Linked DNA regions of Homo sapiens: region 2 is linked to region 1. The links are contacts of gene promoters, found by promoter capture Hi-C in blood cells and fetal thymus (Javierre and others, 2016). All regions are on one chromosome and are shown on one strand. The core of a region is centred on a gene start or on the middle of the fragment in contact, and the rest is flanking DNA. Distances in the headings are between cores, read along the strand shown. Region 1 has its middle 67 kb from the start of FMR1NB. Region 2 holds the start of TMEM185A (transmembrane protein 185A).

Evidence for each region. The method cuts DNA at HindIII sites, captures the fragments that hold promoters and counts their contacts. A CHiCAGO score of 5 or more calls a contact.
Region 2: the fragment with the promoter of TMEM185A here is called in contact with a fragment that was not itself captured in region 1 in 1 of 17 cell types (M1 macrophages); the score reaches 6.0 in M1 macrophages.

Annotation. Positions count from the first base shown.
Region 1 is chrX:148,045,623-148,051,728 of GRCh38, reverse strand. No RefSeq gene overlaps it. Among named protein-coding and RNA genes, the nearest start is that of FMR1NB, 67 kb to the right of the region's middle. The HindIII fragment of the contact is 941 bases long and covers 1,753-2,693 here.
Region 2 is chrX:149,629,593-149,635,698 of GRCh38, reverse strand. It overlaps TMEM185A (transmembrane protein 185A), which reads left to right and starts at 3,907. Exons shown (of 7, transcript NM_032508.4): 1 at 3,907-4,156. The coding sequence starts at 4,119. RefSeq lists silencers at 3,945-4,354, 4,365-4,414. The HindIII fragment of the contact is 7,464 bases long and covers 2,715-6,106 here.

The DNA.
Region 1 (6,106 bases), core at 974-3,473:
TTCCTTTTCCCCTTGGATACCAGAAAGCTCAGAGGTAAACTTTTTGCTATATTCTGTAGAGAAGTCATTCCATATTCCAGGTCCTGTTATCTCATTCCTTCTAAAGAGTTATCTCATTCGTTCTAAATAATTTGTCTTTTTTAGTTTATACATTTGTTTTTTATTGTTTCATTTCAGTCTATTAATATTGTAAACATCTTTGAATGTGGAAGGGATATAACTTATAAGTTAACCAGCTGGCTCTCTTTAGCTGTTGTCTATTCAAGATGAATGACAGAACTGATCATACTGCACAATTATATTTAGCACATGAAGGTCTCAAAGGATAGTGCCAACATACACTCCCTTTATATCATTATTTATTCAGACTACATTCTCATTTTTAAAAATCCAGACAACAGAAAAACATATGAAACACAAAACATAAGTTCCCTTGTACTACAATACTACTCCTTTCCCCACAACATAAATAAATCGCTTTAAGCAAATTTTTATATGATCTCCCATATCTTATTTTCTGAACATATAATAGCAAATGTATACTCCAAAATAGTATTCTGCTTTACATATAGCTCTGCAACTTGCTCTGTTTCTCCTACAGTTCAGCTTGGATATCTTTCCATGTCAATATATATGAATCTATGTCATTATTTTCAACAGTTACATACAATCTCAATATATGAATGTGTCATTATTTATTTCACCAGTTCTCTACTGAACGTAAGCTCTTTTAAGGAACAACATGGCACAACATGGTATTTCCATGGGGAATGCAGTAAAGAGAAGTTAAAAGTTTATTTCTAAAGACATGACCATCTTACTATTTAGTCTCTCACTTTCAGTCACATTACTAATTGCATGTAGCTCATGGTCCCTCAATAATGAATTTTTAATACTAATAAAATTGAGAGAGCAAAAATGGTAACAACTCAGTAAATGACATTTTAAGCCAACTACACGCTGCCAACACATTTTAAATGAGTATTTTATTTTCCCTTAGTTTACACTTTTAAAAAAATCCATTCCACCCAAATAGCCAGATCAAGTTGCTCAACAGGGATTTTATTTTACAATCAAGTCATCATGTAAGTTTCTAAGACAACTATCTGCCCAATGAATCGAAAGAAGAGCATTATGTGGCTTGGCTCTTACTGTGATCACCTAGCAGCTCACGTTGCAGTTTATAGAAACCTAGTCCTGATCCAAACCAAAACTCTTGGGGTGGCAGGGGTTGAAGGTGGGAACAAGAGGCAAGCTGACACTCACAGAAGACTAGAAGCTTCCCGCAATTACAAGCTTGGCTCATGTTGCCCTAAAAATATGAACTCTTTTCACAAATGTTTATAAAGAGAAAATTTTATATTGCAGGCATCTCCACTGACCAATAAGCTGTTTCTGTTTGGGGAGTAAAAAAATGAAATACAGGCAAACAACTGATTTTGTTTGGGGGAGAATTGTTTTATGTGACCACAAACATCTTGCTGGCTACAGTTTTAACTTGGTGTGTGTGTTTGGGGAAAGATGTTGGGGAAGAGGATGGCATAAGTGCTACATTCACACCCAGGTCTTCTGACTCCTATCCATCCACATCCACTAGTTCCTACATCAATCCATTTAACAAATAAGCACTGCCAGAGCACTTCACTAAACTCACTTTCAAAGCACATATTAAAGAGAAATGGCTTAAACTACTACCAGTTCTGATGTGATTAAGGCATTGATCTAGTGCCACTTTCTTGAACCCCTCAAGCTTCTAAGTTTGGGGAGCAATAATTGACCCCTTTGAGACATAGTAGAAACTGTAGATATTCTCATCATAAAAGGAGAATGCTCATACACATAACATTTTGGACACATTTCAGGAGTTTATGGACCAAATTTAACAAAATGGTATTTATTTCGATGAAAGCAATTCATAGAATGATACAACCAAACGGCATTTTGTCTTCATACCTTTGTATAACATTACATGTAAATGTATTCACAAAGCCAAAACAATCCTTTGTTGGATCTCTCATCCTGCTTTTCAAATCAGAAAATGTCACCTTATAAGAGGCCCCCAAGAAACCCATTCTGAGGGTGTTCCTCTACTGCCATCTTGTGGATTTTCGTTGAAAAAATAAAACGCTACAAGAGTTTTTTCTTCTAATTTTCAAGACCTGCATACCTCTCACCTATGTTTGCCAACTGTTAACATCTGGATACATCCACTCTATTTATCTAAATACACACCCATACCCACACATCCTTTTTTTCCAAATCATACAAAAGTAGGTTGCTTTCATCATGACACTTCACTGCAAAATATTTCAGGATGTATTTTCCAAGAATAAACTGATTCCTATAACCACAATACCAACACACCTAAGAAAGTCACCATGAATTCAATATCATCCAGCATCCAGTCTTCACTAAAATTCCTTCGATTATCCTCCAAAATATCCTTTATAGCTTCTGTTTTTCCAATCCAAGATCCACTCAAGATTCACTCAGAGCATTTGAGTGTCTCTTTAAAGAGTCCAGGTAGGATGTCCTCCATCATACCTCACATTCTAGAATTGCCTCTTTCCTCGCTATGATAGTTAGATCAAACATTTCCAGCAAGAACATCACATAAATGACGTTGTGTACCTTCCTCTTGATCATACTGAAGGCACATCATCAAGCAAAACCACTATTGGCATTGCCAAGCTTGACCACTTGGTTAAAGTGATGACCACCAGACTTTTCCATTGAGAAAGCACATTTTTTCTCTTTAAAAGTAGTCTGTAGAGTGATATTTTGAGACTTATTTTCAACATTTTACCCAGTCATATTAGCATCCTCTGATGATCCTTACCTGAGCCAATTATTACTTTGGGTGTTAAAAAGTATTGCTTTTCTAATTATTTTATTCCTTCTACATTTAGTAGCTGGCATTCTTCTGTTTTAAAAAAAACACACTGGGAATTCTTTTTTCTCCTCTCCTTTTATTTTACTTTGAATATTACCATGAATTTATGGATTTTTTTTTCTTAACTCAATGTACTATAAACTATTACCAAATTTTTTTTATGTTTAAATTATCCCAGACTTGGCCAGTGGGTGTCCCTTCAAGTTGCTTCCTGTGTCCTTATGAAATGTCCCCATCATTCTCTGATCACTTTCTTACTTTCTGGTTGTATTAATCCATTTTCATACTGATATGAAGAAATACCCGAGACTGGGTAATTTATAAAGAAAAAAGAGGTTTAATGGACTCAAGTGCCACATGGCTGGTGTGGCCTCACAATCATGGTGGAAGGCAAAGGAGGAGCAAAGGTATGTCTTACATGGCAGCAGGCAAGAGAGCATGTGCAGGAGAACCGCCCTTTATACAACCATCAGATCTTGTAAGTCTTATTCACTACCATGAGAACAGCAGGGAAAAAAAACCCTTCTCCATGATTCATTTGCCTCCCACTGGGTCCCTCTCACAACATGTGGGGATTATGGGAGCTACAATTCAAGATGAGATTTGGGTGGGGACATAGCCAAACCATATCACTGGTATAGCAAGATATCTATATCTAGGCTCACATTGTGCTTGTACTTTCACTGAAATCAGTAGTTTCTCCAAAGAAACCTGATTAGTTTAAGTAAGAAATGATGCATAGAAACAAATATCTTGGTGTTAGGTATGTATGCTACTACAGGGTCATTACTCCTATATCCAGTCAATCAATGAACAGAGATAGAAATACATACACACACACTCACACACACACACACACACACACACACGCATGCACGTATTTTAATCATGAGTTCAGAGGTCTTCTATGATTGAGTAGCTTGTAGTAGAGATGAATATTTTAACAAGAAAAAGTAGAAAAGGCAGGTTTTTATAAACATTTTTTGAGAAGAAATAAGAAGGCTACTAAGGTAGCCAGGACTTGAGAAACTAGATCCAGAAAGAAGGGAGCTCATTAAGGTGAGCTTACTTCATGGACACTTATTTTCCTCCTTGATGTTTTTGGCATGGAGAATGAGATAAAGAATTTAGCAGAGCAGTTTTAGGTCACCTCTTGGGGCTGGGGAGATTAAAAGTGTTCAGTGGACAATGCAGCTAGGTGTTGAGAGACCAAGCTCTCAGAGAGATAGAAGGGACAGAGAATAGAACCTAGCGCTTGGAACCAGTGTTCTTCTAGAGGCATTTACAGTTTAAACTGTGCAGAAAATTAGGGTAAGAAGCCAATCAGAAAGCATCAACAAAGTAGAGCAAGCAAGCAGGCTCACAATGTTCGAGGGTGAAAAATTGGAGTTCATGACCTTATAAGTAGGAGGAGTTCCAACAAACAACCCTGATTCTTAGTTGGAACTCCTAGAGAGCTACGCCCTAGAAGTGGGAGTAAACCAGAAGCAAACTGGGACATACAAAGACCGCAAATTAGCTTTCAGTTAGCAAAGCCCCAAGTTGAATTACATTTATCTAATTCTCTGCTGCCTGACAGAGGAAAAGGCAATATCCTCTGAAGGAAGATAACATGATCTGGAGTCTCTATATGTTTCATACACAATGTTGGGCATTCAGTCAAAACCATTTTTTATATGACAAAGAGTTGTATTCTTTTAAACTCTGAAGAAACAATAAGAGAAACATAAGCACTTTCATTTTTTAAAACAATCTTCTTTTCAGGTATTAAAGCTTTTCAGAGTTTAAATCAAAACTTCAATCTCATTCTGAATTCAAATCTTCTCTTCAATCTCAGTTTAGGCCTCATCTCTTGGGTCAGAAATAGGCAGGGAGGAGGAGGGTCTAATCCTTCACGTTCTTGATCTATTCAGTAAAAATTACTGACATACAAATAAATAGGAGCAAGAGAAAAAGAGAGAGGCTAGAAACAGAAACAGGTAATATTGGAGTTATCAGACCAAGACTTTAAAATAATTGTGATGAACAGGTTCCACAGAATTGGAATCTACAATAAAAAGCCAAATGGAAGTCTGGAACAGGAAATAAAATAGCTAAAATTAAGAGCTCAACAGATGGATTTAACAGCAGATTGGGCAAAGTTGAAAATGGAATTAGTGCACTAGATAGTATCTAGAATGAAGTGTAGAAGTAAAAAGCATTGATATTGCTGAAAAGGTTGTAAGATATATATATATATAATAGTGGGAAAGACTAATATAAGTGTAGTTGGGGGACCTAAGAAAAGAAGAGCAAGGGAGTTAGGGTAGAAGCAGCCTTAGAGAAAGTGGACAAATTCTTTAAGAAACACAACTCAATAAAATTGAAACAAAAATAAATAGTCCTAGATCTATGAAAGAACTGAAACCTGTTATTAAAAACCTCACCACAAAGTAAAACTCCAGGCTTAAATGGCTTCACTGACAAAGTGTTTCCAACACTTGGAGAGTAAATAACATTAATCTTACACGAATACTTCCAAAAAAAAAAAAAGAGAGAGAAAACATGGAACACTTCTCATCTTGTTTTATGAAGCCACCAAAACCAAAACTTGTAAAGGACATTCCAAGAAATAAAAATCACATTAATAATGTGTGTGTGTGTGTGTGTGTAAATCTAACTTAGTGATATTTAACAATGCTAATATATCACAACCACATGAAGCTTATGGAAAATTAATTCATTTAACTTATAATTTACTATATTAACAGGAAAAAAGGACAGAAAATCATATGATCACCTCACTAGATGCAGAAAAGATATTTAATAAAATTCTACTTTCAGTTGTGATTTGAAAAAAAAAAAAGAAAGCCTCTTAGCAAACTTAGAAGACAAGGGAACTTCCTCAATCTGAAAAAATAGCAGCTACAAAAATCCTACAGCAAACATCATAATTATTGTTAAATTATCTTAAAAATTTCCCCTGAGATCAGGAACAAGATAAGATATCTGTTAGCAACACTTCTATTTGATGTCATACTAGAGATCCTAATCAGCATAATAAGTCAAGGAAGAAAGGAGGGAAAGGTATAAGGATTAGAAGTGAAAAAAATCCAAAAGTATCTACAAAAGTTTTGAATTAATAGCTGTTTTAAGGAGGTTGGTATGAGTTCAAAATATAAAAATCAATTTCATTTATCTAGATCATGAGAGTAAGTACAAATTTTTAAAACT
Region 2 (6,106 bases), core at 2,658-5,157, 1.6 Mb before region 1:
AGGCAAGATGAGGAAGAGCACATTTGATTAGTTAGGGCAGAGGGCCCCAGAGGAATGTGTCAGAAATACAGTGTGGAAACAGAAAGGGAGAAAGACAAGCATTGAGTGGAGATTCAGGAATGAGAGCAGGTTGGGAACAAGGAGAAAAAGGAATCATGTGGGCAGCTGGTTGGTGACCTTTGGCAAGCATGGGCCTTTTTGTCTGCCCCGTGTGCTTGGCCACACACACTTGACCTGGGCTTTGCATACACAGCACACTGGAGGAGTGTGGCACAGCCGGGAAGGCTTCCTGGAAACCCTGGCATCAGGAGAGGTCCAGAGGAGAAGCACAGGGATACCGTGGTGGTTTGCTGGCCCAGGCAAAGGCTCCCCATTCTGCCTTCCAACAGGAAATGGCCCCTGCTTCCTTTAGCAGAAAGCTTGCTCCATGAGGGATGATAAACCACCCACTCCCAGGGCTACCCTGGGTGACAGGAGGTCCACTGGGGCCTTGGGACTGTCCTCCCTCCCTCTTCTCTCTCAGTAACTGTAATTTGCCTACCTGAGGGAAGACTCCCTGAGGAGGTGGCTCCTTCTGGGCTCTGGAAGGCCATAGGGGTTGCTGCAAGTCCAAGCAGAACTACAGCTACTACCTCTGTGGTCCCTTCAGTTGCCTCCCTGCAATCTCCTCCTCCAGTTCTCCAAGCCCCTAAATCTAGCCCCGTATTTAATCAAATCCCTGTCTAGACTCCAGACCCACCCACCTCCCAGGGAGATCTCAGATGTGTATCCAAGTTAGGCTAAAGTTGCCTGAAACAAAGGGTTCTGTCAGGAAGCAGGAGATTGCATTCTGCAGGTGGACTAATTCCCAGCATCTTCAGCAATTCTCTAATTGGTGGCATTCAAAGTGTGGACTTTAGGGAACCTAGGGTGAGGAATTCCAGGCTAAGAAAGCCTTGCAGGCTGGCACCTCCATGTTTCCTGGCTAAAGAACTTGTCAATCTGACCTCCGAGAAGCTCTTTATAGTCCCATAGGCCTTGCACGGGACTGGATCCCAGCTGGCCCTCCCTCCACTGGAGCAAGGGTGAAACTGGTGTTGAGTTCAAATCTACTAATTCCACACTCTCTCCATTCTACTGCTGCAGCCAGGGAAGGAGCCTTGGTGGTGTGTGGAGGGCGGTTCCACGGCCATTTTCTTCCCCTATGCCAGGTCTCCCCAGTCCAAGTGTCTAAATTCACCAGGATTCTCTTCACCAGTGCCTTGCTCTTCAGAGGAGAGGCATCCTATATCACCACATTGAAGCCAATGTGAATATTGAATTGGACAAGCCACCAGCTTATCAGAAGGGTGGTACAAATCCAAGTTAGTCCTTAAAACCATGGTCAGATATACACTGATTCTTCTGGAACACTGTAACCTAAGCCCACCCCAAAGTCACCAAGAATATGCTGTCTGGCTTATTTGGGGGTCATACTTTTTCAATCCAGAGCCATTTCTTTCCTTTGAGTGAAGAATGTTGGGAGCCCCTAGCAAGATAGCCCTGGAATTTTTTGGCAAGTCAAGGAAAAGATAAAGTCAAACTCTGCTAGTGGAGAAGATGTGGGTGTCATCTTCTCCACTAGTCATACTTAGCCTTGATGTATCACCTTTCTTCTGAGAATGTAGAAACATTTAATAAGTGGTAATTAAGCTTCCCAGCACTCCTGGTGCCTGCATATGACCCAGGGTCTTTCTTTAATGTCAGGATCACTTGTGGGTCTGTCTACACAGGTCATTGAGGCTTTGGACCTCCATCTAGGGTGGGACACTGAGTGAGGGCTCTGAAGTGAGCAGCAGGTTGTCAGTAGGGTCTTTTGCACTTGCTGGAGAGAGGACCAGATGGCCATCTGGTTTCTGGCTTTTTTTTCCCCATGAGAGCACCAGTAGCATAAAGGGTTGGGCTTCCAGAATCAGTCCAGGTAATCCACCTCTTGAAGACTGGGGATGTGAAGCCTTGGGAAAGTCCAGTTCTTCCTGTATTTCCTCACAGACAGGTTCATATGTTCCTCTTGGCAATTTACCTTGTCAGAGCAAAAGAACACACTGACAAGTAATTTGTGCATCAGTGTCCTGTTGCCTTTGCTAGATAGCTTCCAGGGCCTGGTCAACTCTGGAAGAACTGCTAAAATTGAACTTGTGGGCCTGCAGAGCAGTGGTTCAGCTCCCAGACTCCCTGGGATCTCATTAAAGTAGCGTCTGCCCTCAAGATTCTGGACTCTGAGGAGCCTGCCTGGTCTCTATCTATGAAGCTCTTGAAAGGGCAGTGATGCCTGTTATTCAAGTGTCTGAACTGGCAGACCATCTTCTCATGCCTGCTTGGGGCACGGTCACTGGTAATGAAGATGGTGCTGTCCAATCTGACCACTGGCAAGCACCTCTTTCTAACAGTATGGGCTGCAGGTTCAGCTAGACCCTGAGTTTCATCTGTGCTCCTTCACCCTTACTTGCTGGCTCGCTCAGGGCCTGTTATACAAGCTTCTCTGCGCCTTAATTCCTCGTCTGTATTTGAGTGTTCATTGAGAACCTCCTCTGGGCTACACATTGGACTTTACCCAGAGGATGGGAAAGGAAGATGGGTGAAAAAGTCTGGGACAGGGTCCTGGTGCTTCAGCAGATGAAAACTTGATTTGGATTACTCAACCTTAAAATCAGCTCATATAATAATATCCATTTCCCAGTGGGTGTTGGGAAGCTTAATTACCACTTATGATATGTTTTTACGTTCTCAGAAGAAAGGTGATACATCAAGACTAAGTATGACTATCGCAATTGTGATTCTCTCAAGCTGCCCTTGGGGCTAAACAGTATAAAATTGTCATTTGTGAAACTCTGCTATTGCAACAAAGGATGACTATTATCCATAATGATAGTAGACTAATGTTTAAGGCATTGTTGTGCTCATGAAAACTTAAATCTGCCCAAAGTGAAGATGGTAAACTAGGTCACCTGCTATGAGCTTGTCCTGCTCTTGGATTCCAAAAGCAAACAAAATCCTTGAGGAGGTTGACACCTGAAAGAGTACCAGATAGCAACAGCATTCTTTGTACACCTAGCATGTACCAGGCAGTGTGTTATGCACACGATCTCACTGAATCTTCCTAACACGCTTAGAAAAGAGGTTTTTATCATTTCCATTCTGCGGAGGAGAAAAACTGAGACTCAAAGATGTTGACTTGCCCAAGGAAGATGAACCTGGTACTTGTAAGTAGGGCAGCCTGGAGTGGAGGCAGAGGTCAGGTGTGAAGTGACCACAAAGTTTAGACAGGATCCAAGGAGGCTCTGAACTGGGTTAGAAAAATGAGGATGATTTCCACGTCTCCTGCTTGAATACCCCCCTGCGTACGAATAGGCCTGCTGCTAAGGGAAAAAGGGAACCCAGGAGGGGAAGGCGGTTGGCACGGGAAGTGACTTTGGTGCTAGGTAACTTGAGTAGGGAATAGCCAGCATATCTGGACACGCTGGCTTGGGAATTGGAAGGGAAGTTGGGACCCAAACTTTGGAGTCGTTGACAGATGTGACAGGTGAAGCCTGGGATGACATCGCCAAAAATGCAACGTCTCACTCATTGTCACTACTCCCAGGGCTCAGTCGTCACTGGGGAAAATCTCCAGAAGGTAGCGCGGGCCAAGGTGACAGGTGTCTGCCAAGATCTGCCCGCCAGACTCCCGGGCGGCGCGCTCCCTCCCTGCAGGCCTTCAGCCCGTCAGCATCCCCTTCCTCGGGGCCCTGCTCACTCCCAGCCTCCATCCCCCTGCCATCTCCTCCGCCGGTCGCGTGCGGACACAAGGATGGGGACCTCCCAGCGAGGAGCGCTCTGGGCGGGGCTCCGGACGCATGCGCGGCCCTCGTACGGAAGCCCGGAAGGAGGGGCAGGGGGCGGTGGCTCAGGTTTCTCCGGGCGGCGGCGGCGGCGGCGGCGGCGGCGGCGGCGGCGGCGGCGGCGACGGCGACGGCGACGGCAGCGGGGACGGCAGCAGTAGCGGGAGCAGCAGCGTGGACGCGGCTGGCGCTGGCGCCATGAACCCGCTGTAAGGCGCAGGCTGTGCAGCACGGGGTGCGGGGGAGGAGGAGGAGGACGCCGCGGTGAAGTTCTCCGCCATGAACCTGAGGGGCCTCTTCCAGGACTTCAACCCGAGGTGAGGCGGCGTCGTTGGCGCCCCCGGGAGTCCGCGCTGCGGGCTCGGGCGCGGGCTGGTGTTCGGCTCCGGGGAGGCACGGCGGGCGAGATGCTGCAGCCCGAGGACCCGGGCGCCTGCCCGAGCCTCCCTGCGGGTGCAAGCGGTCCCCAGGCAAAACAGTCGGCCTCGGCGCCCGCCCGCTTCCTCCTCCCGTGCCCGGTGCTTTCAGCCCCTGCCCGGCCACGGCCGGAAGGGCCCGGCCGCGAGCCCCGTCCTGCCCCAAGGGAACCCCATTCTTTTCTGCTTGCTGTCCCTCATTGGTGTCCCAACTTCTTCGTCTCGGTTCCATCCTCTTCTGCGCCGCTGCGGGCCCTCCATTCTCCGCGTCAGGGCCGTCTCACTCGACCCAACACCCCTACCCCCACCCCAGCTGTTTCCTCCAGTTCCTCGCAGTCCTTGGGGTTTTCCTTGGGTTTATGCCCATCCCTCTCTTGTTTGCTTCTTTGTTGAACGGATACCTGAAACACTGTTGAATCCTTGGAGTCAGTGTCGGGGTATGGCAATACCTTATATAATGCATTTCTGGGTGAGCCTGATCATTTTCCATACTCATTTTCTCATCAGTCTTCACTACAAGTTTATTTGCAGGAAGTAGATATTGCTGTCCTTCTTTTCCAGATGGGGAACACCCAGTGGACAGTGTGGAGAAAACACTGGCTAAGCACTCAAGCGCCTGTCCTTGCACTTGCCCGACTGTTTTGTAACTGTTCTTTACCCCAGGCTGTGAGCTCCCTGAAGCTGAGACCATCTCCTGCTCATCTCAGTGTCCCCAGCGCCTCCCACCCACCGTATCTGGCACATAGTAGGCACATATAAAATGTTTGTGGAACTAAACTGAGCCCAAAGACTTGGATTGGAGACGAGGCCATATGTAACTGGGTGATTCTCTGCCCTTCTTTGGCCCTTCTGTAAAATGAGGAGTTGGCCTAACTGATCTCTTAAATGCACTACTCTCCGAAAGGAGTATCCGTTTCCCTTATTTGCCAGTTGGGAAGACGTGCTCAGTAAATATTTGTGTGCTGTAACCTATGTTAGGTGCTTTAGATGCTGGCGGTCTCAGCATGGGGTGAAGAAGGGCTTGTACACTTAAGATGCCTTACAGTACTGTGCAGTGCTGTACTGCGGGGGCCAACTCTGGGGACCTATGCCTTGGCTGCTTGTTGAGGATGAAAGGAAGTTTTAGGGGAGTATTTGTATGTTGAGGGTGCAGTCTCCCTAGGGATGGTGACATTTTAACTTGTGAGTCATTGTGACTTTGTATGTGCTCTTATTCCACTTTGAGTTCATGTTCTGGTTAGGAGTGCCAGTGTCTCTAACACGGTGCAGACATTATCATTGTTGGCTTCGAAGGCATAGAGGAGGTAACAGAACTAACTGCAGTCCCTTCCTCTGCTGCATCAGGGGGTTAAGATTGGTCTGCAGGGTAGTAGGGTTGGTGCTGTGGCTGGACAAGCCCTGTATGTCTTCTATTTGGAGATGGTGATAAGAAAGTTAAGTAAAAACTGAATTGTTTTGTGCCCTTGGGCAACTCACTTATCTATTGTTTTATCTGTAGAATGAGTATAATCTCTCAGTGGGGTAGGGAGGCCAATTAAGGATTGATTACAAAGTGCCTTACAAATAGAAAGCTACAGTGACTTGTTTGCAAGGTGACAGAGAATTCAGAAGCCTCAAGAAACTGCCTTAAGTGATCAAACAGGCTAACGGAGTTGCCAAAGCAAAATAGTGCTGCACTGATACTACCTTTAACCGTTTTTTCCTTTAGCCCTTTTCCCCCCAAAAAAATTAGTATATGAAATTACAGTGAAATACCTGGTATCTAAGCAGATTTATAGTAATTCTCAACATATTCATCAATCTCTTAATTCTACCTGCATTAAAATGTATTTCTACCTGAAAAGTTTAAAG